3 separate regions of the Homo sapiens genome follow, and all the other regions are linked to region 1. The links are contacts of gene promoters, found by promoter capture Hi-C in blood cells and fetal thymus (Javierre and others, 2016). All regions are on one chromosome and are shown on one strand. The core of a region is centred on a gene start or on the middle of the fragment in contact, and the rest is flanking DNA. Distances in the headings are between cores, read along the strand shown. Region 1 holds the start of EIF1AD (eukaryotic translation initiation factor 1A domain containing). Region 2 holds the start of SIPA1 (signal-induced proliferation-associated 1). Region 3 overlaps MAP3K11 (mitogen-activated protein kinase kinase kinase 11).

The links. The method cuts DNA at HindIII sites, captures the fragments that hold promoters and counts their contacts. A CHiCAGO score of 5 or more calls a contact.
Region 2: the fragment with the promoter of SIPA1 here is called in contact with the fragment with the promoter of EIF1AD in region 1 in 8 of 17 cell types (endothelial precursors, total B cells, erythroblasts and 5 more); the score reaches 7.2 in endothelial precursors.
Region 3: a fragment that was not itself captured here is called in contact with the fragment with the promoter of EIF1AD in region 1 in 8 of 17 cell types (naive B cells, total B cells, total CD4 T cells and 5 more); the score reaches 10.0 in naive B cells.

What each region holds. Positions count from the first base shown.
Region 1 is chr11:66,000,857-66,005,058 of GRCh38, reverse strand. It overlaps EIF1AD (eukaryotic translation initiation factor 1A domain containing), which reads left to right and starts at 2,902. Exons shown (of 6, transcript NM_001242481.2): 1 at 2,902-3,149. It overlaps BANF1 (barrier to autointegration nuclear assembly factor 1), which reads right to left and starts at 2,556. Exons shown (of 3, transcript NM_003860.4): 1 at 2,489-2,556; 2 at 1,686-1,824; 3 at 910-1,433. The coding sequence starts at 1,808. The coding sequence ends at 1,287. RefSeq lists enhancers at 1,021-1,827, 2,835-3,204 and a silencer at 2,195-2,534. The HindIII fragment of the contact is 20,996 bases long and covers 1-4,202 here.
Region 2 is chr11:65,636,851-65,640,807 of GRCh38, reverse strand. It overlaps SIPA1 (signal-induced proliferation-associated 1), which reads right to left and starts at 2,707. Exons shown (of 16, transcript NM_006747.4): 1 at 2,626-2,707. It overlaps PCNX3 (pecanex 3), which reads right to left. Exons shown (of 35, transcript NM_032223.4): 35 at 3,369-3,957. The coding sequence ends at 3,830. RefSeq lists enhancers at 2,075-2,144, 3,096-3,886 and a silencer at 2,495-2,864. The HindIII fragment of the contact is 3,649 bases long and covers 2,050-3,957 here.
Region 3 is chr11:65,601,923-65,606,051 of GRCh38, reverse strand. MAP3K11 (mitogen-activated protein kinase kinase kinase 11) reads left to right here. Exons shown (of 10, transcript NM_002419.4): 7 at 1-106; 8 at 200-291. Among named protein-coding and RNA genes, the nearest start is that of KCNK7, 8.2 kb to the right of the region's middle. The HindIII fragment of the contact is 152 bases long and covers 2,632-2,783 here.

The DNA of each region.
Region 1 (4,202 bases), core at 1,653-4,152:
TGCTGCAAATATCCTTTCCCTACAACCACCTCATTTTCCAAGTGGAGAAACTGAGGCTCAGAGAGGCTAAGCCACATGACCAAGGAACACATGGCCGGGTCCCTGGGTTTCCAAGCTAGTTTGAGTTCCAGTCTGGCTACTTCCCAGGAGCAAGTCCATGGGCAAATTAGCCTCTCTGAGCCTCAAATTTCCTCACCTGTAAAGGAGAAAATATTTATTACTGTGAAAGAAAAAAATGTTTGCAAAGATTTTAGCTTCAAGCCTGGTTCATACTAAGTGTTCAAGAAATAATAGGGCTGGCCGGGTATGGTGGCTCACACCTATAGTCACAGCGCTTTGGGAGGCTTAAGGATCGCTTAAGGCCAGCATGGGCAACAGAGCAGGGCCCTGTCCCTATTAAGTTAAAAAGTAAACAAAAAGAACAGGACTAAAATGTACTGAGGTGTACTCCCCTCACATCCTTCCAGCTGTGATGCCTGTGCTCCTTCTCCTCCCTAAGAGATCATGGAAGATGGCAAGCACCCTGCCCACCCTTACAGAGGCCGGGAGAGCAGATGATGACTGGCAGGTGAACTCTCACCCACATCCGGCCCACCCTGTCTGGTACCTCTGACTCCCACTGACTTTTCCACCAGGTGCTGCCTAGCCCAGCTGTTGACTTAACTGACATCTGGAGCACAGTCCATCTGGCTCCCAGGAAAAGATCCACCCACACCCTCTCCCACATCACTCGGGGATTGAGACAAAAGTCACCTGCCTGAGGCCTACATGGCTAGGGTGGCTGCCCTCTGGGAGTGGAAGGGAAGCTGCCAGTTTCGGTCTCTACTGATAAGGAGTGAGGGAAACATGGTCAGTCCCTGAAGGAGAGGCAACTCCCAGCCCACTTGCTTTTCAGTGCACAAAGCCCAGTCATGAAAGCCACTGACTTTATTGATCTAAAAAACTTTACAAGGACAGTGACTGTTCTGCCAAAAAAGGAGCCAAATGGTATCAAACGGATTGAAAGTGAGGGTGGGGGTGAGGGATGGGGCCGGGAATCCATTCAGGAAAGCTGGTAACTGTCACCAGGGAACTGGCAAGGGAAAAAGGACGGGGGAGGCATGCAAGAGCGAGAATCCAAAAAAAAGTTGAAATGGTTAGGGGAGAAAACTCCCAAAAGACCCCGGAGTACGTCGGAGGTGAGTACGACAATAGCAATCTTTTCCTTCGTAGAGGACAGGGGAGGAGTCCCTACTCGGCTGCAAACTCTGGATGAGGGCTGGGGATTGAGAGCTTCCCAGAGAGCATCACAAGAAGGCGTCGCACCACTCTCGAAGGCATCCGAAGCAGTCCCGGGACTGCTTGGCGTTGGCGCCACAAGTGTCTTTCAGCCATTCCCGGAAGAGGTCTTCATCTTTCTTTAGCACCAGAAACTGGCCAAGGACAACATAGGCCTGCAAAACAGGGAAAAGGAAGGAGCGTGCTGCTCAGTGCTCAGTGAGAGATAAGAGCAAGACAGCCATTCCTGTGCCATTCAGAGCACACAAGCCCAGGAAGCAGCGCGGGTTTTGCCCCCCTCTCCTCTCCACCAGGTGCCCAGGCTCTGGCAGCCTCTTCAGATTATACCTTACTGTCCATCCCCCAGCAGATGGAATCACTTCCCTTCCACCCCCCGCTTGCACTAGGTACACGCAGCCACCCCACACCTTGTCAAAACCCCTTTCCTCCAGCTTCTTGCCCAGGACTTCACCAATCCCAGCCAGGCTCCCCACTGGCTTCTCCCCCATGGGCTCTGCCACGAAGTCTCGGTGCTTTTGGGAGGTTGTCATCTTGATCAGGCTTAATCTAGGAATCCCAAAAAAAAGGCAGATTAGGGCTGAAGACCTGGAACTTCTAAGGGCCCACGAGCAATCTCATAGTAAGAGGAAGCCAAGCCAGGGGTTACAGTGGCTTGCTCGATCCCCCTCATCCTGAAAGGAGAAAACAGTTCCAGGGAGACTCTTCCCTACTATTTTTAAGAGGAGTTTCTTCCTGCAGGACCTGGATTTTGATCTTGCCCCAGAGGAAAAACGATCCTGCCTAACAGGTGGCGCAAGCGGGGCAGTGGAAAGATGCCCAGAGTCCGTAGCCAGGGCTGCGCGGAAGCTATCACTCCCTCTGTGACCTTGGCTGAACCAAGACGACACTGCCTGCCTGGAACGGCCACTTGGCGTGGAAAGCTAACCAAAGGGTCTCTCTACCTACAGGGCGAAGCGCACACCTAGCGCTGCGCACACCCGCTCCCCGCCCGCGGGGTTCACGCCGCGCCCCAGCTCCGCCCCCACCGCGCGCCGCTGCGGCCCGCCCCTTCCCGCGGCCCGGCTCCCACGCGCTGCACCCCGCCCCCTCCCCGCAGCGCGGCCAAGCTCTCCCCCAGGGCCCGCCACAGCGCCTGCGACCCCTCTCCTCCCCTTCTCCCCGCAACCCCTCTGGCCTCCAATCAGGGCCCTGCTCCGCGGCTGGCGCTCACCCGCAACTTCAGTTCCCGTAACGGTTCCTCCCGCCACCCGGCCGCTCCTGCGGATACCTCAAGCCACTAGAACTTTCTTCCACTTCCGCTTCCGGGTCGCTTCAAGAGCCGCCTTTAAAAAAGAAACATTCCACGTTGGGCACTTCTAGCCAGTTAGAGCTATAGAGTTGAGGCGCCCCGGACCTCGACGGCGTCCTTAGTAGGCGCTCCTTTCCGGTCCTTCGCGGGAAGCCCTGCCTTCTAAGGTCTCGCTTCTCGCGCAGTTCTGAGGGAGATAGGCCTCCAGGGAGAGGACTTCCTTTCTCTGCTGCCCGGACCCGGAACTCAAGGACTTAGGCTTGACGGACCTGGCGTGGGGAAGAGTTAGAAGACGGACAAGGGAGGGGACGGGAGGCCTCCGAGACAGCGCCGGAAGTACGGTTTTCGGAGGGATCAGACTCAGACTCACGTCGCACTCCTCGCAGTTGGACTGGTGGGAACTGGGAACACTGGAGACCTGATTTCTAACTGACGCTACCGTCGCGGCCGCCGGCAAGTTCCTTTACTGTGTTTTCTTGGTTCAGCCTTGAAGTGAGTCGTGGACGATCCTCTCTCAGCGTCCAGCCTAGACGGCGGTGTTGCTCCGGCAGCGTTCCTGGGAGCCGAGGGCCAGAGACTAAGTGTGGGTGTTTCTCTGAGGGTCTTTTCTCCGGGATAGACAGGGAGGAGGAAGGAGGACAGCAACTAGAGACGACAGTGTTTCTTTCGGAAACCATCAGTCTTAAGGGTACTGGCCTTCGTCTTCTAAGTACGCAAGTCAGAAATATGCAAATGTCGCAGACAAGCCTGCTCACCTCAACCTTTAATTAACTAGTTCCTGGCTTGAACCATCACGGTGGCCACCTAGTTTGTCTCCGGCTGTAGTGTGTTGCCAGACTGAACTTCTCTGTTGTGTGACTATGCTAGACTTGGGGTGTACAAGCGTGTTGAGAAAGATACGGTTTATTTCAAACTCCTTCCAGAGAGGTTGCCAGGATGACTTCTCTGGAGCATGCGTATAGTTTTATATTACACTAGTACTTAAGATTATAGGAGTTACTTTTTTTTTTTTTTTTTTTTTGAGACGGAGTCTTGCTCTGTCGCCCAGGCTGGAGTGCAGTGGCGCGATCTCGGCTCACTGCAAGCTCCGCCTCCCGGGTTCACGCCATTCTCCTGCCTCAGCCTCCCGGGTAGCTGGGACTACAGGCGCTCGTCATCACGCCCGGCTAATTTTTTGTATTTTTGTAGAGAGAGGGTTTCACCGTATTAGCCAGGATGGTCTCGATCTCCTGACATCGTGATCCGCCCACCTCGGCCTCCCAAAGTGCTGGGATTACAGGCGTGAGCCACCGCGCCCGGCCGGAGTTACTTTTACATGACATGCATTGTATTGTCCCATTCTGTTGTAGCAGGACGAGTCGCAGACAGAACTCCTCAGACACCAGATTAAAGAAGGAAGAGGTTTTTTTATTCGGCCGGGAGCGTCGGCAGACTCGTGTCTTAAGAGCCGAGCTCCCCGAAAAAGAAATTCCTAGCCCTTTTAAGGGCTTACAACTCTAAGGGGTCTACGTGAAAAAGTCATAATAGATCAAGTAAGCGTGAGAAACGTGACTGGGGGCTACATACATCAGCTAACAGAACAAAAAGTTTTACAGTGCTTTCTCATACAATGTCTAGAATTTACAGATAACACCAG
Region 2 (3,957 bases), core at 1,458-3,957, 360 kb after region 1:
GAGGGGCCTGGGCAGAAAACAGGAACCCAGGCCCCCAGCCTGGTCCTCCACCACCCGTGTTGGCTTCCGGCCCCCTCCGAGACCATCAAAGCTGCTTCCGCTTTCCAGGCCACTTCCTTGTCTGCCTAGGGCTAAAGTTTCCAGCCCCCTCCCCAGCTTAGCTGGGCAAGGCTAGAGGCTGGGCTGTTGGGTCTTGGTCCTGAGGGTCCTGGAGCCTGGGCAGCCCTGGGACTGCCAGGGTCCCCCAGTCGCCACCCACACACCTTAGCTTTGGCCTGGGCCCAGAGTAAGGGTCCCACCAGGACCTAGCCCAACCGGACAGATGACTTGTATTGGCTGGGACGGGAAACCCAGGGGCCACTGGTGTCTGGGTCCTGCCCACTTAACAAAGGGAGGACGTCCTGTCCCCAGAGACCTTCCTCCTTGCCCCTCCCACTTCCTTCAGGGTCCCTGGAGAGCTGATCACCCAGAGAGGTCTGATCTCAGTGCCCTGGACCTCAAGGCCTCAATACCACAAGGACACATGGGTTCCCAGGGAGGCAGCGGCAGGGCAGCAGGAATGGCAAGAGGACTTCCTTCAGCACAGGAAGTAGCCCCAACTGTGGGCCCAGCCCTCTGCCAGGCCCCCACATCCTGAGGAAGGTGCTGGGGTCACAGCAGCTGTCATGGGACCCCAGTCACCCTGCCCTGAAGGACAGGCCAACTCACCTTCTTGCAGGCTACTGTGCCCAGGCTTGGGGGCAAGAGGAGTCACAATGACAGGGACCCATAGGGACCTCTGCCTACCTGGTCTCACTGATGCAGACAGGGAGGTCTGAACCCCATGTGACAGATGGTCAGATGAGGTCCAGAGGAGATGCTCTTGCCTGAAGCAATTCCGTGTCAGAGCTAGGATGTGAGCCTGGGTCTGCCCATCTCCAGGCCCTAAGCAGGGCTGCACCTGCCCACTGCTGTCTGTGTGCGTAGGTTTTGGGGGGTGGGTGTTGGGCTGAGGTTCAAGGTCTCACAGGATGCAAGATTGAGACACCCAAAGCCCCAGGGACCTGCTAAGTGCGGAAACGTGACGCCAGAGGCAGGTGCAAATGGTGGTGTGAGAACTTGAGGGAAGCCACACCCAGGCAAGCCCTGGATGGAGTAGGCAGTGAGGACAGGGAGCTGGGGAACCTCCACTGGGGGTACAGGCATCTAATGGTGGGTCTTCATGCAGCATCCAGCAACATCATGCGGGGCTGGGCCGGAGGGGGGTGGAGGAGGGGCTCCACACACCCTTCGTCTGGGGCCTCCAGAACCAAGCAAGAGTCGGCTCCCCAGCCCAGGTGCTTCTACCTTGATTTCTCCTGAATAAACTCCCATGCTGACCTTGAGCCTCTGTTTTCTCATCTCTAAAATGGGGTTAACTGGCCGGGTGCGGTGGCTGTGGCCTGTAATCCCAGCACTTTGGGAGGCCAAGGCGGGGGGATCACCTGAGGTCAGGAGTTCAAGACCAGCCTAGCTAACATGGTGAAACCCTGTCTCTACTAAAAACATAAAAATTAGCCGGGTGTGGTGGTGCGCACCTGTAGTCCCAGCCACTCAGGAGGCTGAGGCAGGAGAATCGCTTAAACCTGGGAGGCAGAGGTTGCAGTGAGCCGAGATCGCGCCACTGAACTCCAGCCTGCGGGACAGAGTGAGACTGTCTCCAAAAAAACAAAGAAAAAAATTGGGTTTAATTATTTCTGTCCCCTCCCAAGGCTGCTGAGAGACTGAGAAGAATGAGGTGAGTGTCGCTAGCTATGTGTGTGTGTGACGGGTGTAGCCCCTGGCTCCATGAGCCAAGCTCTGGGCACATTCAGCGCTCGGGCCTGGGCTATAGTGTGTGAAGGAGTAGGAGGGCATGAGGGAGGGGGTCTGTGCAAGCCCCGCTCCTTGTGGGCTGAGCTCTGCACGCTTGGAAGTGAGATCTGTGCATGTGTGCACCCAGCCTGTGCGCTGCCTCTTGCTGTGGCCCAGTGCCAGGCTCTGGCGCTGCCTTGAGGGGTGTTCTCGGGCTCTGCCCCCCACCCTGAAGCTTCACACAGGGTCCATTGAGGCTAGGACATTCCTCCGGGCCTGTGTCACTAGGGGTGGGGGGAAAGGGCCGGCCCCGCCCCCACAGATCCGGAAGGCCTGGCTGCCCCAGGAGGAGGAGCTGGCCACTTCCCAGCACATCTGGAGGTCATGACCCCATTTCGGCTGCCAGGGGGCGCGACAGATGTTTCCTCCCAGGCCAGGCCAGGGACTGGGGTGGAGGCCGCCTAAGAAGAAGAGGAGCCTCAGAATAAGGGGGAGCCCCGCACACACTTGCAGTGTTGAGGGGGAGGGGGTCACAGTGCCGCCACCAGGAGTCAGGAGCCGCCGCTTCCACTCACCGGCTGGCTGGCCAGGCTAAGCCGTCACACAGAGAGAGTAGGAACGGCTGGTCAGAGACAGGGGGCTGGACATATTGACTCGGGACTGAGCTGGAGCCCGGAGGGAAGTTGGGAGGGTGCTGGCGGCGAACGTGGCGAGGACCCCACTCCCATACACATCACCCGGGCCCACGGCTAGGCCACCTCTCCCCTGTCGGGCCCGACAGTAGTGCCTCCCGTCCCCTGCTCCCGCCAGTACCTCTGGGGCTCCCGCCCAGCCGCCGCCGCCCGCGCTGGGGTCCCGCTGCCGCTCTCCCGCTACCGCTCCCGGCGCCGGCTCCGCCTGGGGGCGGGGCCATGCTGGGAGGCGGGGCCATGCCGGGAGGCGGGGCCGGCCGGGAGCTGTCTGCGGCGGGAAGCGCAGCAGCGGGGATTCCAGGCCTGGCGGAGGTCAGCACCGAGCAGTGCTCATTCTAAGGCCATTTCCTCTCCTGAGAAACTTGTGCCTGCCTTCCAGACCAACCGGGAGGGCTAGCGGAGGCCACCTAGCGTCCAGCTCCCGGCCAGCAGGTGCTCAAGAGTCTGCCACTATTTTATGGAGCACTTGCTAAGCACTGGGCCCTGGGCAACCATTCCACTAGCGCGCTCTCATTTATTCTAAAAACACCTTAGATAGGTGTCATCTCTTTACGCCCTGGAGCAGCTGAGGTGCAGAGAAAGGCTTTGGCCAAGAACAAGCCTGATAAATGTAGGAGCCACCAGACCTGGAAGTCTGACCATATGGTGGGAAATGGCAGACAATACCCTTCAGATAAAGGCTTGAAAAGGGAGCAGCCATGCGGTGAAGAGGACCCGGTTCTACCTGAACCCCACCTTGGTCTGCCCTTGATCTCTACTAGACTTCAGCCCCACATCCTTCACCCCTCTGCGTGCTTGTCCATCCCAACTTAGCCGCCTGTACTATCATGTACCCATTCCCAGGTAGAAAAAGAAACTGCCAACCAAAATCAAAAATAGTGTTATTAATTCTGATGTCTCCGAAGCACAAAAAAAAAAAAAAAAAAGAAAAGAAAAAAAAGGAAAGAAAGAAACCACCCTTCCCACAATTCAGGCCCCAGGTCCAGGCCAAGGGGGCCACACCTGCAGGCAGTGCAGGCCCAGGGGCTGAGGTGGTCCTGGCCACAGGCTCCAAGTGGGACCAGCCCATGGTTTGGCTCTTAGGGCCTGGCTGGGAGGCTGACTGCCTCCATCTGGGGAGCCCAGGCCCTGGACTGGGGATGAGAGAGATCAGGGGTCAAGGTCAGAGGTCTGGGTCACTCAGTTTTGGTACTCTGGCCAAGGCAGCCAAAGGTCAGGGTTCAGACATGTAGGCCAAAGCCACTCAGTTCTGTGGTCCAGCAGAGAGGCAGCAGAGCAGGTCCGTTACTGAATCCTAGGAGGTGGTCCAGTGGGCGCCAGGTAGCTCAGTACTGGTGTTCCAGCAGGGGCTGGGCTGCCGGGCTCTCACGCTCCTCAATAGGGGCAGGCCAGTCGCCCAGGGCACCCATAGGTGTGCCACTCTCAGGGGCACTGCTGTCCAAGCAAGGAATGT
Region 3 (4,129 bases), core at 1,458-3,957, 400 kb after region 1:
GCCGCCAGTCCCCCCGACGTCTGGAGGACTCAAGCAATGGAGAGCGGCGAGCATGCTGGGCTTGGGGTCCCAGTTCCCCCAAGCCTGGGGAAGCCCAGAATGGGAGGTGAGTACCTGAGTGCCCCCCAGACCCAGCATCATTTGCTTTCCCCAAGTCCTGAAATTCCTAAAGCACCCCTCCTTGCCCTCCCATCACCAGGAGAAGGTCCCGCATGGACGAAGCCACATGGTACCTGGATTCAGATGACTCATCCCCCTTAGGATCTCCTTCCACACCCCCAGCACTCAATGGTGAGTGGCCTTCCTCCCCCGGCAGGATCTGGCTGAGCTCCTTCCGTGGGCACCTTGGGGAGGCCACAATAGGCTAGTAGGCAAAGCAGGAGTCCTGCCCTGGTTGCTCTCATTCTAGAGACTAGGAAACCAAGGCTGAGACAAGACAGAGCCGATCCTGGAACCCAGGTCTGACCTACAGGCCCACGATCAAGCGGCATACAGCCCAGGCCTCGGCTCGGGGCCCAGAGTCTCATCCCCTTGCTCAGACCTGGCCTGCAAGAAGCCTCTTCCCTGGCCCCATGGCAGCCCCTGTGCCTTTAGCAGGCTCCAGGGAGAAAAGAAAGACAGGAAGCCCACCTGGCATTTGGTACCCAAGGGAAGCTGGACCCAGATGGGGGAAGGAATCAGCCTGTGTGGGGTGGAGCCAAACAAGTGTCAGCCACACTGTGCTTCTCAGAGCCCCTTCTGGGAGCCTGTAGGTGAAGAAGAGAATGAGAAGGCCGAGCAGGCAGGATCCAGGACCCATTCTCACCACATCCAGGATAGCTCGGGGCCTTTCTGTTCTCCATGACGGTAACTGCCCTACTGTGCCAGGCATTCCCTCCAAGCATTGATGAAGAGGGGCTACTATTACCCCATTTTGCAGATAAGGAAACTGAGGCTCTGAGAGGTGAAGTAACCTACCTCAAACCCCCAGCTGAGGATTTGAACCCAGAGAGGCTTCAGCTCCAATGCTCTCGTAGTGAGCTCAGAAGCTTTCACTTGAAGAAAGGGCTTCTCACGTATAGACTGCTTAGGAAGCCAGAGGGTCAGGCAGAAGGCAGGGCTCCAGCATTGCAGGGAGGAGGGCTCACTCAGCTCAACACTGCCCAGCTCTGAGTGAGGCCAGAGAGTTATGGCCTCCCTTGCCTGTGGGTCCCTGTGCCAACCTAGGGACCATCCTCAGAGCCCCCACACCTGCTGCTCACAGCCAGAATGTAGGACCCGCTTAGCTGCTCTCAGAAGAGTCCTGTTCAGCAAGCCGTTTAAACTCACTCCTCCCATCCCACCCAGCCCATCGCCTCTTCCATTCCCTGAGCTACACTTGATAGTTGTAACAACAGCTAACCTTTGTTGGTTCTCTTCTATGTGCCAAGCAGTTCTGTGAGGGGAGTAGTAGTATTGGCCTGCATTTTACAACAGAGAAAACTGAGGCACAGAGAGATTAAGTGGTTTGATGTAAGGCAACCAGTAGAGCAGGGATTTGATCTGCTCTTGCCTGTCTGACCACAGAGGCAGAGCCCTGGGCCTCCATCTGCCCCGCCATTTGCTACTCCAGCAGCTGCACTGCCCCCAGCATCTGTCCTGCAGGGACTGAACTGAGAGCTGGAAGGCCAAGGAGGCTTCTTGAATTCACTTGCTCTAAATTGTACCAGGCCAGATGGGCCAAAGGAGAACTTGAGAGCCTGTCAACCCAGGTGTGTAGGCTGAAGCAGGTCCTGACTGTTCCACAGAACTCTCTGGCCCTCAGCTCCCAGAAGCAGGGGCACAAGGGGCCTGGGCCCCATCGTTCTCAAGCTTGCCCCATGTTTTTTTATCCAAAGAATTTGTTAATTATTTATGAAGAGAAACTACTTATTAGCCCATATATTCATGAATAGTTCAGATCAGTGACAAACTTCTAAGTAATTCAACCCAAAGAAATTCTTCATATTCCAAAATCACTTTGCATTCTGAGAGATAGCAGCCTTCCTCATCTCCTCGAAGTATTTCATGGCATCATAACTTCTGTAGACATCTGTGCCCATAGAAATCTGAAATGCCTTCTTTCTTGGTCCAGCCCCTGCAAACTGAGAGAGCCGCAGCCCCCAGGGATACAGTGAATGCTCCCACAATATGAAATTGCAGATGTGTGGCCAGAAGGCCACATGTCTGAGGTTTCATGAAAGCACTGGAAACCATGGTAGTTACTGTTCTTGATAAGTATGTCGGCCTCAACACCAGTGCCCTTCCTGGCTGATGAAGAAATGGATTGCCACTTGCCCTGAAAGGATGTCAGCTGCCCAGCTCAGTGGCTGGCTGAGCATCTGGTTCCCCTAGCCCAATCCCACACTCCACGCATCATCTGGGTCCATGAAAGTACATGACATTGACCTCACAGCCACCCCCCGAAACCCAGCTAAGAATCAAATAATGGGGCTTCACAGAGGTCCCAGACCCTGTGAGATGGTCCCCGGCATAAGCCATACCACTGGAGAGTCACACACACCCTCACCCTGTCCCCAGTGGGCTGTTCTGGTCCCTGGAGAGCTGGCTGCAAGGAGTGGCACATTGGCAGGGTGCACTCAGCTACGCTGATAGCAACTGCCCTGTGAAGCTTGTTGCCTTAGAGCCAATAACTACGTGGCTGTGTCCTCCCTGTGAGACCTCACGGAAGCAGTTTCGCCTCTATCTATCTATCTTTGGGTCAAGAATAGTCACGCAGCTTTCTCCTAAACAACAGAGTTGCTAACTCTTGCTGCCAGGAAGCTTAGAGGCAGATTCAAATCCTAGCTGGATTATGTTGACCAAGTCCCTTACCCTTCAGAACCTCAGTTTCTCAGGCCATTGACTGCAGGAACTTCTGTTCACTCTCATTTTGTCTGCTGGACCCTATCTTCTCTTCCCTTTGTCTCATTTCTGTCTTTTATTTTTTTAAAGATAGAGTCTCATTCTGTTACCCAGGCTGGACTGCAATGGCATGATCATGGCTCACTGCAAACTCTGCCTCCCAGGCTCAAGTGATCCTCCCACCTCAGCTTCCTGAGTAGCAGGGACTACAGGTGCATGCCATGCTTGGCTAATTTTTATATTTTTTGTAGAGATGGGGTTTTGCCATGTTGCCCAGGCTGGGCTGCGCTTAAGTAGTCCACCCACCCCAGCCTCCCAAAGTGCTGGCATTACAGGTGTGAGCCACCACACCCAGCTTGCTCTTGCTATTTTCTTTTTTTTTTTTTAGAAGGAGTCTTGTTCTGTCACCCAGGCTGGAGTGCAGTGGTGCGACCTCAGCTCACTTCAGCCTCCACCTCCCACGTTCAAGCAATTCTCCCTCAGCCTCCCCAGTAGCTGGGATTACAGGCATGTGCCACCATGCCCAGCTAATTTTTTTTTTTTTGAGATGAAGTGTCATTCTGTTGCCCAGGCTGGAGGGCAGTGGTGCAATCTCGGCTCACTACAACCTCCACCTCCCAGGTTCAAGTGATTCTCCTGCCTCAGCCTCCCAAGTAGCAGGGATTACAGGCATGTGCCACAATGCCCGGCTAATGTTTGTATTTGTAGTAGAGATGAGGTTTCACCATGTTGACCAGGCTGGTCCCGAACTCCTGACCTCAAGTGAGCCACCTGCTTCAGCTTCCCAAAGTGCTGGGATTACAAGCGTGAACCACCATGCCCGGCCTAATTTTTGTATTTAGTAGAGACAGGGTTTGACCATGTTGGCCAGGCTAGTCATGCACTCCTGACCTCAAGTGATCTGCCCTACTTGGCCTCCCAAAGTGCTGGGATTATAGGCTTGAGCCACCACTCCCAGCCTCTCTTGCTTTTTTTTTTTTTTTTTTTGAGATGGAGTCTCACTCTGTCACCCAGGCTGGAGCGCAGTGGCGGGATCTCGGCTCACTGTAACCTCCGCCTCCTGGGTTCAAGCGATTCTCCTGCCTCAGCCTCCCAAGTAGCTGAGACTACAGGTGCGTGCCACCATGCCCTGCTAATTTTTGTATTTTTTAGTAGAGACAGGGTTTCACCATGTTGGCCAGGATGGTCTCGATTTCTTGACCTCGTGATCCGCCCACCTTGGCCTCCCAAAGTGCTGGGATTACAGGTGTGAGCCACCGCACCCGGC